Linked DNA regions of Homo sapiens: region 1 is linked to region 2. Evidence: promoter capture Hi-C in human tissues and cell types (Jung and others, 2019). All regions are on one chromosome and are shown on one strand. The core of a region is centred on a gene start or on the middle of the fragment in contact, and the rest is flanking DNA. Distances in the headings are between cores, read along the strand shown.

Region 1 (4,976 bases), core at 1,975-4,474, 1.4 Mb after region 2:
TGATCCACCTGCCTCGACCTCCGAAAGTGCTGGGATTACAGGCGTGAGCCACCGTGCCTGGCCTAATTTTAATTTTTTTTTTGTAGAAACAGGATTTCACTTTGCTGCTCAGGCTGGTCTCGAGCTCCTGACTTCAAGTGCTCTTTCCATCTCCACCTCTCAAAGTGTTGGGATTACAGGCATGAGCCACCATACCTAGCCAGGACAGATTTTAAAGAAGAAAAATATAAGCTTATTACACTGAAAAGAGAAAATTTTCCATAGCTAAGGGATTTAATTGTAGGACAGCCACTGAGGAGAGGGATATCCGTGCATAGGGCTGCAACATATGCTGCAAAAATAAATTAGATACCATCCTTCTATGGTATAAACAGCCCTTTTTCTGTCTCTAATGACTGTTTTTATCAGTTGGTTATATATAGATATTTCTACTCCAATCTGACCTAAATACTGTTAATTGCTTTGAATTATAATATAACCTACTTATTGACCCGTATTATTTGCAGTAATTGTTATAAATAGAAATCAAATCCCTTACAGTGAATTCCATAAGGTAGTTTCATTATAATAAATTAATTGCTTGAAATTGCATTCCTGGAAGTAAGGGGTTTGAGGACAGAACCAATAACATGCCTATTTTTGAAATTTAGAAACACTTAATGCATATTTCTACACCTTCTCTTGTCAAAACATCCTATTCATTCTGCTCCGTTGTGTTTCAGTTTTTATTTTTTGGAAGGATATATGAGACATTTAAGATGGGAAAGGATGGAGAGATAACTGCCTTTTGACTGGCATCACTAGTTTCCTATCCTTGGTTGAGACATTTTCCTACCAGTCTCTTCTGTTTATTTACTACATGATTTTTTACTTTCTCAAGAGTAATATATCTCTAAGCCCGTGTTCATAGCGATCACAGAAGAACCAAACCCATGTGTATTATCTTTCTTTCTCTCTAATAATAAATTCTTCTTCCTTTCTTTCCCTCAAATGAGGCAGAAAGGGAAAGCTGGGCAGTGTATAATCAGCAGGTGAGATTCCTAATGAGATTGTGATATCTATGAGGTTGTTTATTTTGGTCATATTTGATAGAATCTTTAAGACATAGGGCTTTGGAATTGGGTTCCCTGGGTTCACATCCTGACTGTGTTACTTACTAGCTATGTGACCTCTCTAAGCCAGTTTCCTCATCTGCACAATTAAATCACTTCATAGGATTGCTGTGGAAATTAAATGCAGTAACATATAAAGCACTTAGCAGCATGCCTTGCACATAGTAAATGTACATAAAATTTTAGCACCTTTTTGTACCATTATTATGTTATTATTAAATTGTATTATTATAATAATACTAGTATGCCTTTTTGTGTGTGGTTTTTGTTGTTGTTGTTGTTTTTTTGAGACGGAGTCTCGCTCTGTCGCCCAGGCTAGAGTGTAGTCAGGCTAGAGTGCAGTGGCGCGATCTCTGTTCACTGCAAGCTCCACCTACCGGGTTCACGCCATTCTTCTGCCTCAGCCTCCCGAGTAGCTGGGACTGCAGGTGCCCGCCACCAAGCCCGGCTAATTTTTTGTATATTTAGTAGAGATGGGGTTTCACCGTGTTAGCCAGGATGGTCTCAATCTCCTGACCTTGTGATCCACCCACCTCGGCCTCCCAAAGTGCTGGGATTACAGGCGTGAGCCACCGTGCCTGGCCTCTTTTTTTTTTTTTTTTTTTTTGAGATGGAGTTTTGCTCTTGTTGCCCAGGCTGGAGTGCAATGGCACGATTTCTACTCACCACAACCTACCCCTCCCGGGATCAAGAGATTTTCCTGCCTCAGTCTCCTGAGTAGCTGGGATTACAGGCATGTGCCACCATGCCCAGCTAATTTTTGTACTTTTAGTAGAGATGGGTTTTCCATGTTGGTCAGGCTGATCTCGAACTCCTGACCTCAGATGATCCACCCACCTCGGCCTCTCAAAGTGCTGGGATTATAGGCGTGAGCCACCGCACCCTGCAGTATGCTTTTTTTTTTTAAGTGACTGTCCCTCTTTTGTAAAGCAGTTGTCACTCAAGGTCTTCCTCAAAATGGACTGCTTTTTTAGGCGTATGTGTGGGAGTTGGGATTAGGTTTGGCTATTGATAACTGGAAATTCAAAGTGGCTATGGTTTAATAAACACACAATGGTTTATTCTCTCTCAAAAAAGAGTCTGAAGGTAGGTACACAAGGTCTGGTATGATAATTTTACGAAGTCATCCAAAAAAACCCCATAATTCTTCTGTCTTTCTGGTCTGCTATCCCAATACTTGGCTTGTATCCTCAAGGCCACTTTGTGGTCCAAGATGGTTGCTGGAGTTTCACCTCCAGTTGAATGAGTCTGAGTTGTAGACTAAAAAAAGGAAAGGTAAAAAGTTAGAAAAGACTTCCTCAAAACTGTTGTCTCTTACCTTGATAAGTAGCCTTCCCAGAAACCCTTAACACTTCTACTTAGATCTTATTGTACAGAACTTAGTCACGTGGCCACACCTAGCTACAAGGGAGGCTGGGAAAGGCAATATTTTGGCTGAATTCATTGCTGCCTCAATATATTTGAGATTGTGTTACCAGTGAAGAAGGGGAGAGTGGATGTTGAAAGGTAGACATTGATCTCCGTCTGTCATAGCCTATGTCTTATTGGCAAGAATAGCCAAGCAACTACTACTGTGATATTGGATTAAAAACTTGGAGATGTTTTTGTATTATAGAGAACTTTTTATTATAAAGGAACTCCTAGTAAAGGAGTTCATGTTACAGTGATTTCATTTATTTATTTATTTATTTATTTATTTTTAATTAATTAATCAATTTTTTTGAGACAGAGTCTTACTGTGTCGCCCAGGCTGGAGTACAGTGGCGCGATCTCGGCTCCCTGCAACCTCCGCCTCCCAGGTTCAAGTGATTCTCCTGCCTTAGCCTCCCTAGTAGCTGGGATTATAGGTGTGCACCACCATGCCTGGCTAATTTTTGTATTTTTAGTAGAGTTGGGGTTTCGCCATGTTGGCCAGGCTGATGTTGAACTCCTGACATCAGGTGATCCACCCACCTCAGCCTCCCAAAGTGCTGGGATTACAGGCATGAGCCACTGTGCCCAGTCTGATTTCATTTAATTACCAAAATATTTCTGAGTACAGCCAAGCTTTGCCCACCCATTCTTGAAGTCTGGCTGGAATTCATTAGACTGAAGGCCTAGATGCTTTGGCTTAGATCTTATTTCTAAGTTATTCAGCATTTGAATTTCAATAGGAATGGATGTTGGGAAGTTCCCACCTCCCTAAGCATTTGAAGCACTAATTCATAACTTTTCTTCATAGATATATGGCAGTGTATGGGAGAAATTACATCGAGCCTTTGCCATTTGGAGTGGCTTTGGTATGACCCTGACTGGCGTTCACACATGTGGAGATTACATGTTTAGTGGCCACACAGTCGTCCTAACTATGCTGAATTTCTTTGTCACCGAATGTAAGTATCTTTTTAGTGCTTCTATGCGTATTAGGTAACTAGCTGCAGTGAAGGCTGTGGGAAGGGTGTCAGATCCTGTGAAGAATGGCAAAACAGCCTGACCTGAGAAACGTGACTGAGAAGCATTGGAAGGAATGTAGCTTTAAAATGATCTTTCTGTCCTTTTCCTAGATACACCAAGAAGCTGGAATTTCTTGCACACTTTATCCTGGGTTCTCAACCTCTTTGGAATCTTCTTCATCTTGGCTGCCCATGAACATTATTCTATTGATGTGTTTATTGCTTTTTATATAACAACAAGACTCTTTTTGTACTACCATACTCTGGCCAATACCAGAGCATATCAGCAGAGTAGGAGAGCAAGGATTTGGTTTCCCATGTTCTCTTTTTTTGAATGCAATGTTAATGGCACAGTACCTAATGAATATTGTTGGCCATTTTCAAAACCAGCAATAATGAAAAGACTAATTGGATGAATACTATCTTTCTAATGAATTTGTGATTAAATATATAATAGTTGTTGAAAATGAGTAACTTTGCGTTCTCCCCCTAGGTTGTTCTTAGATGCCTGGCTTATGTGTTGACAAAGTAAAGTTTTCTGTTCTGAGCAAAGTTATGATTATAAAAAGCAAGAAAGAACAATCAAGAGTCCTTATGTAGCTATTTGAACAGAAAGCTTAAGTAGATGTTTTCTGCCCCTTCTCTTTAGGAAGACTTAATGTTGTGATTGAAGTCAGGCTGTACCCTTACCTGTTGAGTATTTGCTTATTGAACTTTAAACAAGTCAACTTGAGCAGTTTGCTGGTTGAGGAATTTTCATTGATTTCCAGTAGGGCTCTAGTCAAGAAATAATATGTTTTGAAGCTCCTTATTACCTTTAGAAGAAGAAACCCTAACAAGTGACAGTACTTGTTCTTTGGACTAATCTTTGTTTCATTTTAAAAAATGCAACCCTGGGACATGATCTGTTTTACTGACAAAGAGTTTTTGCCTTCTGAACCATCTTTAAATATACTGAGCATACCAGGATGCCTGAAATAAGAAGAGAATGAAAGAGGCCATAGATGACGTGACAGAGTACTGGCTAGGATGCCATTGGTCTCCTCATTAATGCAAATGTAGGGCTGGCATATTTCACCAAAGATGCAACAAAAGATGCAGTGCCAGTGTGACCCTCAGTGAGTATTCATGAGGGAAAAATGGCTGCATCCATAAAAATAAATGGGCTTAATGTTAGTGGTATAGGTACCCAGAATAACTTCTTTGTGCTATAGTTGTTAGATGACAGTTCAATTTTATGCTTTTTTAATGGTGTTATTAAATGAGCCAAATAGGAGTGTTTTACCAGATGTTAGATAAAGTTCTTAATGCCGTTAAGTAGGGAGGTATGCATGCAAAGAATTGTTTTCTCCTGAAAAGAAACTTACAGCACGCAAAATATAACTTTTTGGTTTTTGAAATTTATCATTCTTGGCTGTTGGAAGTAAACAGT
Region 2 (5,174 bases), core at 1,775-4,274:
GGAAGCAGGGGGCAACTATACAGAGTCCACTTGTCTCAGGTCACCATGGCCCCCTGGCCCATGGCTTCAGGCTGCAAATCTTGCCAGGCTCTCCCCTTGGCCCTGGCTGAGCGCCTCACATCAAAGGTCAGCAAAGTTCAATCTCTTCCCCTCTACCTGTAAGACAGAGAAATCAGTGGGTTACTCCTCCCTCTGAAATTGTCATTAATCCATTCTCCTCCCCATCCCATCTCTCTTACCTCCTGCTTACTGGATAATCTGTTCTCAAAAAAAAAAAAAAAAAAGTTTCCTCTAGGAGAATCTACAAGCTGAGTCCTATACCTTAGCTTCACAGCTTGTTCCCTTTCCCTTTCTTAGAATACCCAAATGAATGTCCAAATTCTCCTCTCTAAGCAAAGCTCAGAGATGGAGCAGTATATGCAAATGATAGGAACAAATCTCCCATCAACAAGAGGCTAAATATCCTAGAAGGCTAAAAACAGGCCTGCTCTGAAAGGAGTTCCTAGCCCATGACCGAGCAGCTGGCAGCCAGCAACAGCTCTGATCTTTCTGTGAGGAAGGGACGGAAAGCCCCGGAAGTCTTCAGAAGTCCCATGCTCCAACAAAATATCAGATAAGGAACTCATGAGTCTGTTAATCTTCTCATCAATCAAACCCAATATCACAGCCAACAGCTTTAACGAACTTGCAGTCAGGTGGACACTATGGTGGGGGAGTTCAAAAGGAAAGAGCAATCCTCATGATAGGTAATCATTCTACCAGTTTCCAAACCCAGAAATTAGGGACTCCCTTACCCGTTGCTTGTGAAACATTACCTGCCCCTGACCTTCACCTCAACTTTGCCAGTCAGGAGATAAAAATGTAACCCCTGAGCAGGCCACACACTGGGTGCTGAGAAAAGCCATACAGCTGAGTCCACTCTACTTCTCCTTCCTAACTTAGCCTAAGTAGTTCTACAACCCTATTCCTAAACAGCTCAGAAGAGTCCCTGAGCTAGTCTGGAGAGACATGAGGTATTGAGTCCAGTTACACAAACAGAACAACTTGAGTAAGGACTGGATGACAGAGAGCAACAGGAGCTTAAGTCACATCCAACCAATGACAGAAGGAAAAAGGACAGTGTGATCAGAAAACAGTTTTAAGGAGGTCTAATTTTGGGGATCTCTTTTATTATTTTTAGATGGAGTCTTGCTCTGTCACCCAGGATACAGTGTGCTAGTGTGATCATAGCCTACTGCAGCTTCAAACTCCTGGGCTCAAGTGATCCTCCCACCTCAGCCTCCCATGTAGCTGGGACTACAGCTTTGCACCACCACACCCTACTAATTTTTAATTTTTTTTAGAGATGGGGGTCTTGTTACGTTGCCCAGGCTGGTCTTGAACTCCTGGGGTCAGACAGACAATCCTCCGGCCTCAGCCTCCTGAGTCTGTTCTTTTTCTTAAATCGACTGCTTCTGTAAGCTTTATTGTCACTATCCCCACTCAGCCTCCTTGTAAGGCTGGCAATCCCTCTCTACCACCCACCCCCAAACACACATCTCAGGGGTGATAAGGCAGAGCTGAGGTCCTTCAGAATTGACAGAGATGATTTAAAAACAGTTCAGGACAGGCGTGGTGCCTCACGCCTGTAATTCCAGCACTGTGAAAGGCCGAAGCGGGTGATCACTTGAGGTCAGGAGTTCGAGACCAGCCTGGCCAACATGGTGAAGCCCCGTCTCTACTAAAAATACAAAAATTAGATGGGCATGGTGGTGGGCGCCTGTAGTCCCAGCTACTCAGGAGGCTGAGGCAGGAGAATCACTTGAACGTGGGAGGCGGAAATTGCAGTGAGCTGAGATTGTGCCACTGTACTCCAGCCTGGGTGACAGAGCTAGACTCCAGCTCAAAAAAAAATAAAAATAAAAATAAAAATAAAACAGTTCAGCTTTGGCCTAGGTAAAACGACACGAGAAGACAGCTGGGGGAGAGGATCAAAATGGTGACGGGAAGGGGTGAATGCTAAGAATGTGATGCAACTTTAGAGAAAACATTGTAGTGAGGAGGTCACTGACGGGAAGTTGATACTCAGGGTGTATCATCCCGTATTTGAGAAATTACAACTTGCCAGCCATTCTTCTAAGAGCTTCACATATATTTAATCTTCACACCAGCCCTAAGAGGTAGGGAAAAGGTACATGCTCCATTATCCCCATTTCACATATGAGTAACTCAGAGAAGCTTAGAACCTTGCCCAGGATCACACAGCTCAGTTGGTGGGAGGGCTGGGATTCGACGTCAGGCCTGTCAAGCTCCAGAGCCGCGTTCTTAGCCGCTGCATTTTAGCTTCATACCTGGAAGAAGCAGCAAGGTTTAGGGAAGGGGCGCCGGGAGCGCCGCAGGCCGGGCCAGTGAACACTGAGGGCCAGCAGGGCTGGGCGGGGTGGGTGTGTGCGGGAGATCTCTGAGGACGGCGAAGCCAGACGGGGGCCGGGGCCGGGCCCGGGCTTGGGGAGGCCGGGACGGCCGGAGCAGCGGCGCGGAGGCTGCGGGCGCCGAGGGGGCCCGGGGCTGGCGGGTGGAGGGGCCCCGCCGAGAGGAGACGGGGGCACAGGTGGATGCGAAGAGCGCACCGGATGTGGGACACCAAAGGGGAAGGGGCCACAGGCGCGCGGCGGCGACTCCGGGGTGACATCGAGACAGCCTCTGGGCTGGGAGAGCCCTGCGGGAAGAAGGGAGCCCGCCCGGTCCGGAGGGGAGCGAGGCGGTTCTGAGGGAGGCCGGCGGAAAGGACCCGGGGCGCGGCGCACGCTGGGCCGCCCGGGACGACCCTGCGGGTGGTGATGGTGGCAACATCCAAGGGAGTCTGTTGGGGGGGCCTGAGCGCGACCGTGGGCGGGGGGGTCTCCTCAGGGGCGGCTCACCCGGAGGACTGGGCGGCGTCCCCGCTGTCCCCGGGCTCCGCCGCGTCCCGGGGCTGCCCGGCTTCCCTGCTTTCGGGGCCACGGGCCGCGTCGCGGCTGCTCCGCCATCTCCGAGCGAACGCTCTGCCGCAGCCTGGCCCAACCACCGCTCCCACCGGGGGAGGCGGCGCGCCGCCGCTGGTGGCACCCGCTCGGATCCACCGGCTCCGGCCCTAGCAGCCGCGCGACCTGGGTTCCGGGAAATCAAGCGGCCCTCCGCAGTGCCGGGCCGAGCCGCGGCCTCCGAGACGGCGGGCTCCGCGCCCCGCCCGCGGAAGCGCACCCCCTCCTCTCCGCGCGATGGCACTGCCGGCCGAGCGTCGGGGACCACGACTTCGGAGCAGGGGCGGGCTCAGGCCTGGGCTCATCCACTCAGCCCCGCGGAGGGGGAGCCGGGCCGGCCCACTCGGGGGAGGGGAGGAGTAAGAGGCGGAGCGGCCTAACCGGAGGCGGGACCAGGGGCGGGGCGAGGCCCTCAGCCGGCTCCCAGGGCACTCACCCTCCCTCCCCGCCCCGCGTCGCCTGCGCAGCACCGAGCGCTGTTTGGAGGCTGTTTATGAGAAGTTTTTTTTTTTTTTTTTTTTTTTTTTTTTTTTTTTTGAGACGGAGTCTCACTCTGTCGCCTGGGCTGGAGTGCAGTGGCGCGACCTCGGCTCACTGCAACCTCCCCCTCCCAGGTTCAAGCGATTCTCCTGCCTCAGCCTTCCGAGCAGCTGGGATTACAGGCGCCCGCCACTATGCCCAGCTAAATTTTTTGTATTTTTTAGTAGAGACGGGGTTTCACCATATTAGCCAGGCTGGTCTCGAACTCCTGACCTCGTGATTCGCCCGCGTCGGCCTCCCAAAGTACTGGGATTACAGGCATGAGGAAGTTTTATTCTCAAAAGTACCCAAAGGGAGTAGGAGGAGGTACTCTCTCCAACCTGGTAAGCCAGGCTGCTAAAATCTACGCCTCTGGCCGTAAACCTCCAACAGCAGTAACACAATGGACTGTTTAAAGGTTATTTTATTAAATATTTTCAGTTCAAGGTTTCATTGTAACAAAGCTATGAAGGGTCTACCAACATTCAGAACAAACACTATTTTTAAATTATTTCTATGTTGTCATGCAAAAATTCTGCATCAAATGCCTTCCGTTTCTTGTTTAAAAGGTGATTTTTTAATAGTCTATTGTCTATAGATGCTGACATTAGCCCCAGAAGAGGAGTAAGAATGCTAAGAAGTGGGGCTGGAGCAGCCATATGAAGCTATGGGTCTCAATGAATTCTAAGACCATTTGTCTTCAAGCCAGCAAAACGAAACCCTGTGGTGAAGGGATTTGCGTGCTGGCACTGCAGACTGCAGGGCAGGAAAGGGCTAGGGCCCAGGGGCTGGGACATGCATGAGGTGCTCGGAGGAGCCTGGCTAAATCCAAGCACCAGCACCTGTGAGTCTGCTCTCTTCTCAGCTGGCTCCCAAGTAAACCTGTAGCTTTGCCTCTTCTCCCAGCTCTCGTGCCTCCTGAAGGTAGTCCAGGGAACTGGAATCTACCCACCTTTCCCCCAAAAGTGGAGATGTTTGTGCAGATAAATCTGCAGCGTTGTTTTGAGGGAAACCAAGGCCATGACCAATTGCTCCTCCATTATCTTCTTTGCTATCTGCTTAGGGTATAGATCTCTTCCTCCTGGAATGGAACTCCTTGAGCACAGAGAGGGACAATGAAGGTAGAAGCCTTGGCTCTGGACACCTCTTTTGGGTTACATGCGGGGAGGGGTGATGCCCATGCAGATTGTCCAGCAGTAAGTCTATACTTCAGTTGGTCAGTAAAGAGGCCTCTGTAAGGACACCTCTTCTTCTTGCCAGAGCAGTCAGGTCAATCTCAAAGACAGGAAAAGAGATGGACGTGCAGCAAGGAAGAATAAGAAGGGAGGCAGCCCCAAAGGCAGCCTGAATGCATAGAAACGACCACCACCTCTTCTCCCACTGCCTCACTCCTCCCATCCCACAGGGGCACTTGGCAGAGGGCCCAGGCCCAGATGAGGGTCAGCATGGGGACCACTACCGTGAAAAGGCAAGACAAAGATGGTCCAGATCAGCACAGAAACAGAACCGCCAAAGGCGGCACGGGAGCCCTGACCAGGGCCTGGCTCTCTCCTTGCCAGGTTAGAAGAAAACACGAAGCAAAGCAGCAACAACCCCTCCCCCTCCTAGCTGCAGGGATAAGGCCTCAATATTAGGGCCCACATGCATTGTGCA

The links. The method cuts DNA at HindIII sites, captures the fragments that hold promoters and counts their contacts. A contact is called where the count stands out against the background at its distance.
Region 1: a contact is called between a fragment that was not itself captured here and the fragment with the promoter of NDST2 in region 2, in 1 of the 25 tissues and cell types used here (dorsolateral prefrontal cortex).

The regions. Positions count from the first base shown.
Region 1 is chr10:75,172,733-75,177,708 of GRCh38, forward strand. It overlaps SAMD8 (sterile alpha motif domain containing 8), which reads left to right. Exons shown (of 6, transcript NM_001174156.2): 5 at 3,334-3,484; 6 at 3,656-4,976. The coding sequence ends at 3,960. Among named protein-coding and RNA genes, the nearest start is that of VDAC2, 36 kb to the right of the region's middle. The HindIII fragment of the contact is 3,060 bases long and covers 1,695-4,754 here.
Region 2 is chr10:73,808,574-73,813,747 of GRCh38, forward strand. NDST2 (N-deacetylase and N-sulfotransferase 2) reads right to left here and starts at 3,025. Exons shown (of 15, transcript NM_003635.4): 1 at 2,901-3,025; 2 at 2,226-2,330; 3 at 1-156. It overlaps CAMK2G (calcium/calmodulin dependent protein kinase II gamma), which reads right to left. Exons shown (of 23, transcript NM_001367534.1): 23 at 3,928-5,174. It overlaps NDST2-ZSWIM8-AS1 (NDST2-ZSWIM8-AS1 readthrough), which reads right to left and starts at 3,247. Exons shown (of 18, transcript NR_182658.1): 1 at 2,901-3,247; 2 at 2,226-2,330; 3 at 1-156. RefSeq lists silencers at 2,460-2,529, 2,830-3,539. The HindIII fragment of the contact is 10,328 bases long and covers 1,840-5,174 here.